4 separate regions of the Homo sapiens genome follow, and regions 2, 3 and 4 are each linked to region 1. Evidence: promoter capture Hi-C in 16 types of primary human blood cells and fetal thymus (Javierre and others, 2016). All regions are on one chromosome and are shown on one strand. Each heading gives the region's core, a stretch centred on a gene start or on the middle of the fragment in contact. The rest is flanking DNA. Distances are from core to core; before and after follow the strand shown.

Evidence for each region. Contacts are between HindIII fragments. The CHiCAGO score rates a contact against its expected background, and 5 or more counts as called.
Region 2: a fragment that was not itself captured here is called in contact with the fragment with the promoter of DUOXA1 in region 1 in 1 of 17 cell types (erythroblasts); the score reaches 5.1 in erythroblasts.
Region 3: a fragment that was not itself captured here is called in contact with the fragment with the promoter of DUOXA1 in region 1 in 10 of 17 cell types (endothelial precursors, naive B cells, erythroblasts and 7 more); the score reaches 7.8 in endothelial precursors.
Region 4: a contact is called between a fragment that was not itself captured here and the fragment with the promoter of DUOXA1 in region 1, in 1 of 17 cell types (total B cells). The highest score is 5.4, in total B cells.

What each region holds. Positions count from the first base shown.
Region 1 is chr15:45,128,484-45,131,197 of GRCh38, forward strand. DUOXA1 (dual oxidase maturation factor 1) reads right to left here and starts at 1,396. Exons shown (of 9, transcript NM_001276266.2): 1 at 1,369-1,396; 2 at 977-1,132; 3 at 535-651. DUOX1 (dual oxidase 1) reads left to right here and starts at 1,511. Exons shown (of 34, transcript NM_175940.3): 1 at 1,511-1,615. The HindIII fragment of the contact is 6,225 bases long and covers 1-1,933 here.
Region 2 is chr15:45,467,283-45,469,982 of GRCh38, forward strand. All of the region lies in intron 1 of SLC30A4-AS1 (SLC30A4 antisense RNA 1), which reads left to right. Among named protein-coding and RNA genes, the nearest start is that of SLC30A4-AS1, 20 kb to the left of the region's middle. The HindIII fragment of the contact is 268 bases long and covers 1,297-1,564 here.
Region 3 is chr15:45,411,465-45,414,164 of GRCh38, forward strand. The region is part of intron 3 of AFG2B (AAA ATPase AFG2B); the gene reads left to right. Among named protein-coding and RNA genes, the nearest start is that of AFG2B, 10 kb to the left of the region's middle. The HindIII fragment of the contact is 681 bases long and covers 1,010-1,690 here.
Region 4 is chr15:45,431,958-45,434,780 of GRCh38, forward strand. It overlaps COXFA4L3 (cytochrome c oxidase associated subunit FA4L3), which reads left to right. Exons shown (of 5, transcript NM_197955.3): 4 at 115-175; 5 at 991-1,383. The coding sequence ends at 1,059. MIR147B (microRNA 147b) reads left to right here and starts at 1,093; the gene lies at 1,093-1,172. It overlaps LOC107987223 (a long non-coding RNA gene), which reads right to left. Exons shown (of 2, transcript XR_001751510.2): 2 at 1,512-2,193. The HindIII fragment of the contact is 164 bases long and covers 1,328-1,491 here.

The sequences.
Region 1 (2,714 bases), core at 146-2,645:
CCCATTAAACGTTTACAGCTGTGGCTAGCTAAGGGGACCCTGTCAGGAACTCCTGTGCTAGACTTTCCTCTTCAAGGAAGGGGTCTGTGTGTACGTGTGTATCTGTGTATGAATGTATATGTGTGTTGTTGCACAAAAATAGGAGTTAAGTGGAGAAATTGAACAAGATCTGAAAAGTGGATTGGAGGCAGGATTCCCCAGTAAGGGCTGATGTGGATAAGGAATTCAAGGGTGCAGAATCATGCAAGCCAAAGTATCCAGACTCGAGTTAAACTGGGATGGCGATTCGATGTCTATAAACCTTGTGGCATTTATGGCCTTAAGAGGTTTTCCTTGCCTCCCCAGTTTCTTACCAAACTCTCTCTTTGAAGAACTCCCACTTGATCCGAACTTGGTCTGGATGAAAGCAGGAAGTGCAGCCCTAGGTGCCAGGGCGGGAGCAAGCACTTCAAGACCCCCTCCAAAATCACCTGGACCGCACAGATCTAAGCAGCCGCATCCCCCACCACCCACACCCGGACCACTATTCCCTACCTTCCCCTCTTCCAAACAGTGCGTGTGTGGCAGCCTGCGCCTCTCGCCTTCCCCCGTGGAACCTCACACGAAGCGCCCCCGGGGGTGTGATTAAAGAGGGAACCAGGTCCCGACGTTCTGTGAACAAACGCGCGCCCTTACTCTCAGTGGGGCTCCCGTCCGACCCCCACTCCTCTCCTAACTCACGTAAGGACCCGGCTGTGACCGGACAAACCGGGTCTGGGGTGCTTCCAGTCACTCTTCAAGTCACTCCCAAACTTCTCAGACTGCACCCGAGGCTCTGCGGCGCCGCCTCCCTCTCCCGGCCTGGTACAGAGAAGGGCTGGGTGCGCCAGGACAGTAGTACCGGGGTCTGCCAGCTCCGCAGAGGTCCCTCCAATCCCCCCTCCTCCTCTGCGCCCCCCCACCCATGCCCAGCAATCCCAGCAGCTCCAGCGCAAACCTAGCGACGCAGTTCCGGGTCTGGCGGGGCGCGGGCGCGGCTCGCAGGGCGGTGGGACCCCCAAGACCTCACGAGGATCCCCGGAGGGAGACGTGACTCCGGGGTCTTAGAGGGGTTTAGGTCGGATGGGTGACTTGCTTTGACGCCTGGCCTGGTCTGTGGGTGGCAGGTGATCGATGGCCTTGGACTTGGAGCCCAGACCCGACGGTGTCGAGAGGATCTGAGGAGAGTCTCCCCTCCCCATACCCTCTCCGCCTCCCACCCTCTCCCCAGCCCCATGGGACTTGTGAAGGCGGACTTGCTTTTTTCGCCGTCCACACAACCGCACTAGCCGGGCCTTCGGCACCGACGGAACATCTCTACCTGCGCCCCGGGAGCCCTCGCCGTCTCACCTCGCGCGCTGCCGTCCGCTGGAAGCACCTCCGCGCCTCCCCAGGCGCCAGACTCCATCCCGCCCCACTGCGCCCCGCCCCGTGGCTGAGCCGAGCCGGGCCGTGCCTTCCCCTCCTCACCCCCAGCCCCGCCCGTCCCGGCGCAGAGCTGCAGAGGCACCGGACGAGAGAGGGCTCCGCGGGCCCAGCTGGCAGCCAGGCCGGAGACAAGTTGCAGTCCCGGGCTCTGGTGACGCCGTGGCCGCAGGTCAGATTTGGGAGGGCTTTTCCCGGCCCGCGGGCCTGGGCGCTCCGGGGGAGGGAGCTCCAAGGGCAGGGTGGCGGGGGAGCCGCAGCTCCTCCACGTTATGGAAGAAAGGGGAATGCTAGCCCCCTGCGCCTCCGATCTTATCCTAAGGCTAAAACCGGTCCTGTTAGGGCCTGTCCTCTGCCCAATCAAGGTTTTGAGAGACTGGGTTCTTTGGGACCTGGGAATGTTGGGTGGCCTAGTTTGCCTGGGCCTGCGGGTTCTTCTCCTGGCACCAGCACAACATACCAGGGAGGGAGCTTTGGGCTTTAGGATCCAAGCTTTCCCCCTCAGCCCTCCCTTAGGACCAAGATGGCCTTGACCCATCTTCCTCCCACCTCAGGGCCACCAGGGTCACCACTCTAGGGCTTCAGGCTGGAAAAGCAGCCATGTGGGGCAAGAACAGGCAGGCCTGTGTTCTCTCTCTGGTTCTGCCGCTGGCTCTGCCTGGGGCTTCACTGCCCTGTCCTGGGCAACCTTCCTGTCAAGGTTGTTGAGAAGTTACTGCCCCATCGTTGTGTAAATCATTAAGGGCAACCCACCCACAAGGAGTGGTTATTAAGCATGTCCACCTTCCTCTTCAGGTCATCCCCACACAGCCTGGTCTGAAAGCCCATTTCATGCCCTTAGGGGCTGAGTGGTACATTAGCGTTGAGGCCCAGGATCCTGAAGACATGGTGGTGGCGGGGGAGGGGAATGACATCTTGGGATCAGGGAAGGACCGCTGTGGCTACTTCCGTATATCCAGCTTTACAGCTTCAACCATCCAGAGCCCAGCTCTTCATGCACTATTAAAGGCCAGCACCTGGACAGACTCTGTGAAATGCAGCAGGTGATACTGAGCTTTCCAGTTATGGCAGGGCCTAGGTTTTTTCATTTAATAGGAGATGGAGTAGGGATGAGGTCACTCCCTGGGTTCTCTCCTCTAGACAACCCATCCAGGAACCCTGATGTTTGGCTGGGGATGAGGCTTTCCCTGAGCTCCTTTCTTCCTCTATCCTAACCCCAATCTCCAGGTTGCCTTCAGGAGGTCTTCGCCGGCTTTAGGTACTCCTTACTC
Region 2 (2,700 bases), core at 181-2,680, 340 kb after region 1:
AAACCATCACCACAATCAGGACAGTGAACACGTGCAGGACCCACACGAGTTTCCTCCTGCATCTTTGTAATCCCTCCCTCCCACCCTTCCCTGCTCCCACTAATCCCCAGACAACTACAGACCTGCTTTCAGTCATGATAGGTTGCATTTTTTGGAATTTTACTTTTGCCCCATCTTACGATGCTGAGCGTTTTTAAGAATTCCATATAAGTGGAATCCTACAGTATTTACTCTTTTTGGTCTGTCCCTTTTGCTCAGCATAATTCTTTTGAGATTCATCCATGTCATTGTGTTTATCAATAATTAATTCCTTCTTATCGCCCAGCAGTATTCCATTGTGTGGATATGCTATGATTTGTTTATCCATTCATCTGTGGATAAATATATTTTCCCCAGTTTTTAGCCATTGTGACTAAAGCTGCTATGAACATCATTATATGAGTCTTTGGACATATGCTTTAATTTTTCATGGGTAAATACCAAAGAACGGAATGGCTAGATCATATAGTAGAATTTAATTTTGATTAATTCTAACTAACATTAAATGGCCAAATGTGGCTAGTGATTACCATATTGGACAGCACAGTTCCGAAGTATATTCTTTAATCCAGTGATTCTGTAACAGGGAAAGACTTCCCCTCCTTCTGTAAAATCTGAATTTATTTGCTCATCATTCACTGAGCAAAGATTTATTGAGGTTCACTTTGTGCCCTGCATTGTGGTGGTCACTAAGGATGGGATGGGGCAAGATGGACATGGGCCCTGTCCTCAAGGTTCTTGTAGTCTAATGGACTCAGTTTGGTTGGGCCATGGGTGTGTTCAACATTGAAGTCTGCTGAGAAATCGGAGGATGAATCCAAAGCAAAGTTATAAAGTGGAGTGGTTTCTGTTAAGGCATTGAGATGTCCCCAGGAGAGGTGTGGGGTTTGGTGAAGGATCGAGGCTTTCCCACTCCTACTGAGATAACCTGTAAAATGAGAAGCAGGTACAGGGATGAGGGAGGTGAGTTTGGAGGATGGGGTGTAGTTGTTGGTGAACCTGGTGTTTCAGGTGTGTGTGGGGTGCTTATTGTGAAGGAAGTGGGGGAGGAGGACGTACTGTGCTAGTACAGCTGTGCCTGTCCTGGGGATGTGGGGGAACAGTTGGGGAAGATTCAGCTCCTGAGAAACCCCTAGCAATCCGAGCTCTCATTCTGTCACTGTGACACGACATACACACATCTCTCGTTAGGTCTCTCCCTAGAGAAAAACTATTTTTAGGCCATGATTGGGTGGGTGTGGATGCATTGAACCAAGAAGCTTCCTAAGAATTTTTAGGTCCTTCTGCTCATGACTCATCAGGTTCTGCTCCTAATTCTGCAGAAGCAGCTCCAACCATAGGCTTCTGGTGGAAGGATGAGGGAAGGGGCTGTGATAGGATGTCACTCCTGCGCTGATGACATGTTCGGAGCTGGGATGATTATGAGTGATGGTTTGTGAAGCAGACCCTGCGTCCTACTGGTATATTTAAGTTCGTGGTTTTGAACCTGTTAGTAGGGTGCTTGGAAAGCTGGTGAGGCCAGGGAAGCTTCTAGTGAGGCTAGGGAAGCTCAGGAACCCTAAATAGGAATAATGACAACCATAGCCACCATTTATTGAATACTAACATATGCCAGGCATTTTGCATGCATTATTTCATTTAATTCTCACAACAGTCCTATGAAGTCAGCTAATGTTATGAGTCCCCATGTAACTGAGTGCCCCGAAATGAGTTGTCTTCTCTCCCCTTTCCCACTGTTCCCTATTTTCTACTTAGCCCTTCAGAAATGCAAATACAACCTTTCACCTCCCCCTCACCAGACACTCCCTGCAGACAAGTTCTTCTGTGTGCTCCAAGACAGATCTCTCTTGAGAGTTGGCAGATTTGCAGACCAAGTCATGCCCACCACGGAACTTTCACCTCCAGAGGGTTGCCTTGGGACATTCATCCACAAGGAGGGCACAGCAAAATCACACCCTTTTCCCACTTGGCCACTTTTACAACTTCTGCCCAGGAAGGTGCCAACTCAACCGGATGGTAAATAAGGCACCAAACTAGCAGTGGGACCCCCTGCCCTTATTCATTCCCCTCTTACTTTATCAAAGTGTCTCCTTTCTGCTCCAGAGGGGAAGTAGCACATTTGAAGGCAGGACACTTTGTGCCCCTCCCCAAGCTAGTGTGAAAGGAAAATAAATCTTGGGGCCCTGAAATCATGAAGCTAAAGGAAAAAGTCAAGCTGGGAACTGCTTAGGGACCTTTGTTCACTGAAATAAGTGCATATCTGATTGCTTCCTTTGGAGAGGCTAATCAGAAACTCAAAAGAATGCTGTTTGTCTCTTATCTACCTATGACCTGTAAGCCCCCTCCCCGCTTTGAGTCTTCCCACCTTTCCAGACCGAACCAGTGTTCATCTTGCATATGTTGACTGACGTCGCATGTCTCCCTAGCACGTATAAAAGGGAAAACTTTGCTCTGACCACCTTGGGCACATGTCGTCAGGACTTCCTGAGGCTGTGTCACCGGTGCACATCCTCAACTCTGGCGAAATAAACTTTCTAAATTAACTCAGACCTGTCTCAGATTTTCAGAGTTCACACCAGCTTTGCAATAAATTCACTTTTTAAATATCTGGCCTTGCTCTTGTTGGACTGTACATGCGACGAGCAACCAACCTGCATTTCA
Region 3 (2,700 bases), core at 100-2,599, 280 kb after region 1:
ATACCACCACGCCTGGCTAATTTTTAAATTTTTTGTAGAGATAGAGTCCCACTGTGCTACTCAAGCTGGCCTTGAACTCCTGGGCTTAAACAGTCCTCCAACTCGGCCTCCTAAAATGGTGGGATTATAGTCATGAGCCACCATGCCTGGCCTACAAAAAATTTTTTTAAATTAGCCAGGTGTGGTAGCACGTGCTTATGGTCCTAGCTACTCAGGAGGATCACTTGAGGCTTGACCCCAGGACACCCAGGAGATCGAGGCTGCAGTGAGCTATGATTGCACCACTGCACTGCAGCTTGGGCAACAGAGCGAGATCCTGTGTCTTTAAAAAAAAATTAAAAAACAATTTTGACTGGGCATGGTGGCTTACACCTGTAATCCCAGCACTTTGGGAGGCCGAGGCAGGCAGATCACCTGAGGTCAGGAATTAGAAACCAACCTGGCTGGCATGGAGAAACCCCATTTCTACTAAAAATGCAAAAAATTAGCCAGGCGTGGTGGCGCATGCCTGTAATCCCAGCTACTCAGGAGGCTGAGGCAGGAGAATCGCTTGAACCCGGGAGGTGGAGGTTGCAGTGAGCCAAGACCACGCCATTGTACTCCAGCTTGAGCAACAAAAGTGAAACTCCATCTCAAAAAAACAAAAACAATTTATAGGCCGGGCGTGGTGGCTCACACCAGTAATCCCAGCACTTTGGGAGGCCGAGGCAGGAGGATCACGAGGTCAGGAGTTCAAGACCAGCCTGGCCAACATGGTGAAACCCTGTCTCTACTAAAAATACAAAAATCAGCCAGGTGTGGTGGCGCAAGCCTGTAATCCCAACTACTGGGAAGGCTGAGGCAGGAGAATCGCTTCAACCTAAGAGGCTGAGGTTGCAGTGAGCTGAGGTTGCACCACTGCACTCTAGCCTGGGACAGAGTGAGACTCCGTCTCAAAAAAAAAAAAAATTATAATCTAAAACGGGGGTCAACAGATTTCTGTAGAGAGAGCCACATAGTCAATGTTTTAAGCTTTGTGATCCACAGTCTCTGTCATAACCACTCACCTCTGCCGTTGTAGCACCAAAGCAGCTGTAGACCATATGTAAATTAGTAATTGTATTCTGATAAAAGTATAGACACTGAAATTATATAATTTTCACATGTCAGAAAATATTCTTTTGATTTTTTTTCAAGCATTTACAAATGTAAAAACTATTCTTAGTTTGGGCTGTACCAAATAAAGGTGGAAGGCCTTAGTTTGCCTGGATCTCTGATCTAAAAGACGTTAAATGGATGCAGTACAGGGACTGGTAAAAGCACAAAATTGAAATGAACAATATGGCTACCTGATAGTGGATTTCACAGTGGAAGCTGTGGGACGCAACTCTTCAGATCCTCTCACCTGCGTTACAGTTTCAGAAATTGATTTTGCCAATTCGCCTACATGTGATCCTGCCCTAATGAACTAGGTTTCTCTAACCACACACATAACAGACTGATATATAAGTAATAATTATAATTTATTCATCTTAACCAGGAGATCTATCTCCAGTGAACCCTAGAATTTTTGAGTCCATGGATAAGAGCATTTATAATATGCGCCAATATTTTTTATGCATTGTCTCATTTAATGTTCACAAGATGCATGAGAGAAATTAACCACACCTTCCTGTTGGAAGCACTCTGTTTCCTTAGCTTTGAGACATTAAGCTTTTCTGCCTTTCTGGCCACCCTCTCCCCTCCCTTAAATGTTAGTGCTCAAGAGGCTCCCAGAGTCCTCCTCTTGTTGGAGCTGTGGGTGATTTTATGATGATCTTGATGTCCACAGCATCCCTGAAAACTGTTGACTCAGAAATCTGTATATCTAGAGTAGACATTTCTTCTGATCATCAGAACTACTTCACTGCCTGCCTACTGGATAACCCCAGGGATGTCAAACTCAGCATGTAAAAAGTTCAGCTAGTCAGCTCTGCCCCCACACTTGGATTCCCTACCTCAGTTAATACAGCCAGCCACCCCATCCCCTAAGTCAGAAATCTGTCTTCTAAAGGCATAGCATCAGAACTTTGTCCCTATGTAAAGTACAATTCTGTTTTATGTTTCAAATATCCATCCCTTCCACACCATCTTCACTGCTTGTGACACTCCAGCCTTATTATTTTTGTAGGCTGAATCATTGCAAGAAACTTGTAGCTGGTCTCCCTGCCTCTAGTTTAATTTCCTTCCAGTCCATTCTCCATACTGCTTCCTCAGTGCAGACTAAAGCTTTCAAGGCCTATTGTGATCTGACTCCTACCTCCACTTCAACACCGTTGCTCCTTGCTGGTGCTCTTGAATTACATTGTCTGGGGTCAGTATTGGTTCTGCCACCTCATTAGCAGTAAGACCTAGGCAAATTACTTAACTTTTTTTAGGCCCGAGTTTTTTTGCATCTGTAAAATAATGATTAAAGTGGTTAAAAACCATTTACCTTAAAGGTAATGAGGACTCATTCATTATTCGGTTTACTGTTACTGAGTGCCTCCTTTGGGTAGGTGTCATTCTAGCTGCTGGGGATTTTGAGGTGAGCTTTGCTTACGTTCTAGCAGAGCAGAATGACAAACCCAACGTGGAAAAATAATAATAGTGAATACTTGCTTTAAAAGTAAAGGATGGGCAGTAGCATAGAGAGTGAGTAGGAGGAGGGGGTTCCGCTTTAACCAGGTAGTTAGGAAAGAC
Region 4 (2,823 bases), core at 160-2,659, 300 kb after region 1:
AGACACATGCCTTAGTATGAGACTGGTTTTGTCCCTAACATGTTTATAAACCCAGTATCAGTGTTGGTTTAAATTCACATCTTTTAATGTTTAATTGGCTTTCTTTAATTTTAGCCTTGATCGAAAAAAAAATCCAGAACCTTGGGAAACTGTGGACCCTACTGTACCTCAAAAGGTATTGTTAAATTAAAAACAAATGATTTATATTTTGCCCAAACCTTAGCACCTTTGTGAGCAAAATAGATTTAGTACCTTACCCTTATTGTGTAACTTAGATCAATTGTGCCTTCATCGAGTAATTAAAATGAGGAAATTTTAAGAGCCTACTCTATGCCAGGAGCATTGTCCATCCACTCATGAGAAGCATATACACTTTTGGAACTATGGCTCACATAATACCTGGCAAACTTAAAAATCTGGATACCGGCCAGGCACGGTGTCTCACACCTGTAATGCCAACACTTTGGGAGGCCGAGGCGGGTGGATCACTTGAAGTCAGGAGTTCGAGACCAGCTTGGCCAACATGGTGAAATTCCATCTTTACTAAAAATACAAAAATTAGCTGGGTGTAGTAGAACGCACCTGTAAACCCAGCTACTGGAGAGGCTGAGGCACGAAAATTGCTTGAACATGGGAGGCGGAGGCTGCAGTGAGTTGCAGTTGTGCCACTGCACTCCAGCCTGGGCAACACAGCAAGACTGTCTTAAAAAAAAATCTGGATACTGCTAAGTGAAAGTAGGGCACATGTGTTTGATCTTTCCCTCTGATCTCATAACACTTAGGAGCCCAAGGGCTTTGTAAAAAGATGGACTGATAGAAACCAGCTCACATTACTATTTTGTGCATGTTTTAGATATGGAAAGAGGTAGGTACAAACACAATGGTGATGCTTTTTCTAAAGGGGAGTGTGGACAAATCCGAAAGAGGGACATGCAAATGAAAGTCAAATTTTTAACAAAAGGTTTTTTTTTTTTCCTTTTTTCTCTTCAGCTTATAACAATCAACCAACAATGGAAACCCATTGAAGAGTTGCAAAATGTCCAAAGGGTGACCAAATGACGAGCCCTCGCCTCTTTCTTCTGAAGAGTACTCTATAAATCTAGTGGAAACATTTCTGCACAAACTAGATTCTGGACACCAGTGTGCGGAAATGCTTCTGCTACATTTTTAGGGTTTGTCTACATTTTTTGGGCTCTGGATAAGGAATTAAAGGAGTGCAGCAATAACTGCACTGTCTAAAAGTTTGTGCTTATTTTCTTGTAAATTTGAATATTGCATATTGAAATTTTTGTTTATGATCTATGAATGTTTTTCTTAAAATTTACAAAGCTTTGTAAATTAGATTTTCTTTAATAAAATGCCATTTGTGCAAGATTTCTCAAAGATTAGGTATATATTTAAATGGAAGAGAAAATATTTTTATGGGAGAAAAATACATTTGAACCATGAAATTTCATCTTTTAAATAACATCCAGTACAGATTTCTGTGTAAGCTTTTTTTTCCAAGTTCATTCATTCACTAGTAGTTTATTGAGCATCTACTATTTGCAGTATAGCTAACAAAGCCAAAATTTGGTGGGATACGAATAAAAGATGGTAAGTACAATGAGGAAAATGAAGTGGGGATGAGGTTGGAGACTCGCATGAGGACTGACCTTGGAGGAAGTGTAGGATTCTGGAGATGAATTGGAATGCAAGGCATACTGAGATCTGCCCTAAAGATGCCAAGCCAGGCTGGGCGCGTGGCTCACGCCTGTCATCCCAGCACTTTGGGAGGCTGAGGCGGGCAGATCACAAGGTCAGGAGATTGAGACCATCCTGGCTAACACAGTGAAACCCCGTCTCTACTAAAAATACAAAAAATTAGCTGGGCGTGGTGGCGGGCGCCTGTAGTCCCAGTTACTCGGGAGGCTGAGGCAGGAGAATGGCATGAACCCGGGAGGCAGAGCTTGCAGTGAGCTGAGATCACACCACTGCACTCCAGCCTGGGTGACAGAGTGAGACTCCGTCTCAAAAAAAAAAAAAAAATGCCAAGCCATACTGTGATGTTCCTGTGGAGGCTAGGGAGAGGAAGATGGGGAGCCTTGCCAGCGCTCTTCAGAGTTTGGGGCCACTCTTCCCTCTGGCCAATGGTAACTTGAAGGCTGAAGATACATTCATATCCAGCATGCCGCTGGGCTCCCCTGCCTGTCCCTAAAAATGAAATAAGAAGAAAGTTGCTTTTCATTAACTTTTTTTAAAAAAATGGAGATATAATTCACATGTCATAGTATTCACCCATTTAAATTGAACAATTCAGTGGTTTTTAGCGTATTCACAAAGTTGTGCAACCATCTCCATCTACTTTCAGAACATCTTCCTTACCCCAGAAAGAACTCTGTACCATTAGCAGTCATTTCCCTAGTCCCAACCCCTCTGCTCCCAGCCCCAGGGAAATACTAATAAACTGTCTCTATGGATTTGCCCATTCTGGACATCTCATGTAAATGGAATCAGGCAATATGTGACCTTTGGGTTTGGCTCCTTTAACTTGGTATAGTGTTTTTAAGAGTCATCTATGTTGTACCATGTTTATATTATCAGTATTTCATTACTTTTTCTGACAGTACTCTTCCAGTGTAAGGATATGCCATTTTTGTTCATTGGTAAGTTGATGAACATTTGGGTTGTTTCTACTTTTTGGCTATTATGAATAATGCTGCTATGAACAGCCATGTACAAATTTTTGTGTGGCCATATATTTTTGGTTCTCCTAAGTAGGTACCTAAGTTCGTTAACTTTTTTTTTTTTTTTTTTTTTTTTGAGACAGGGTCTTGCTGTGTC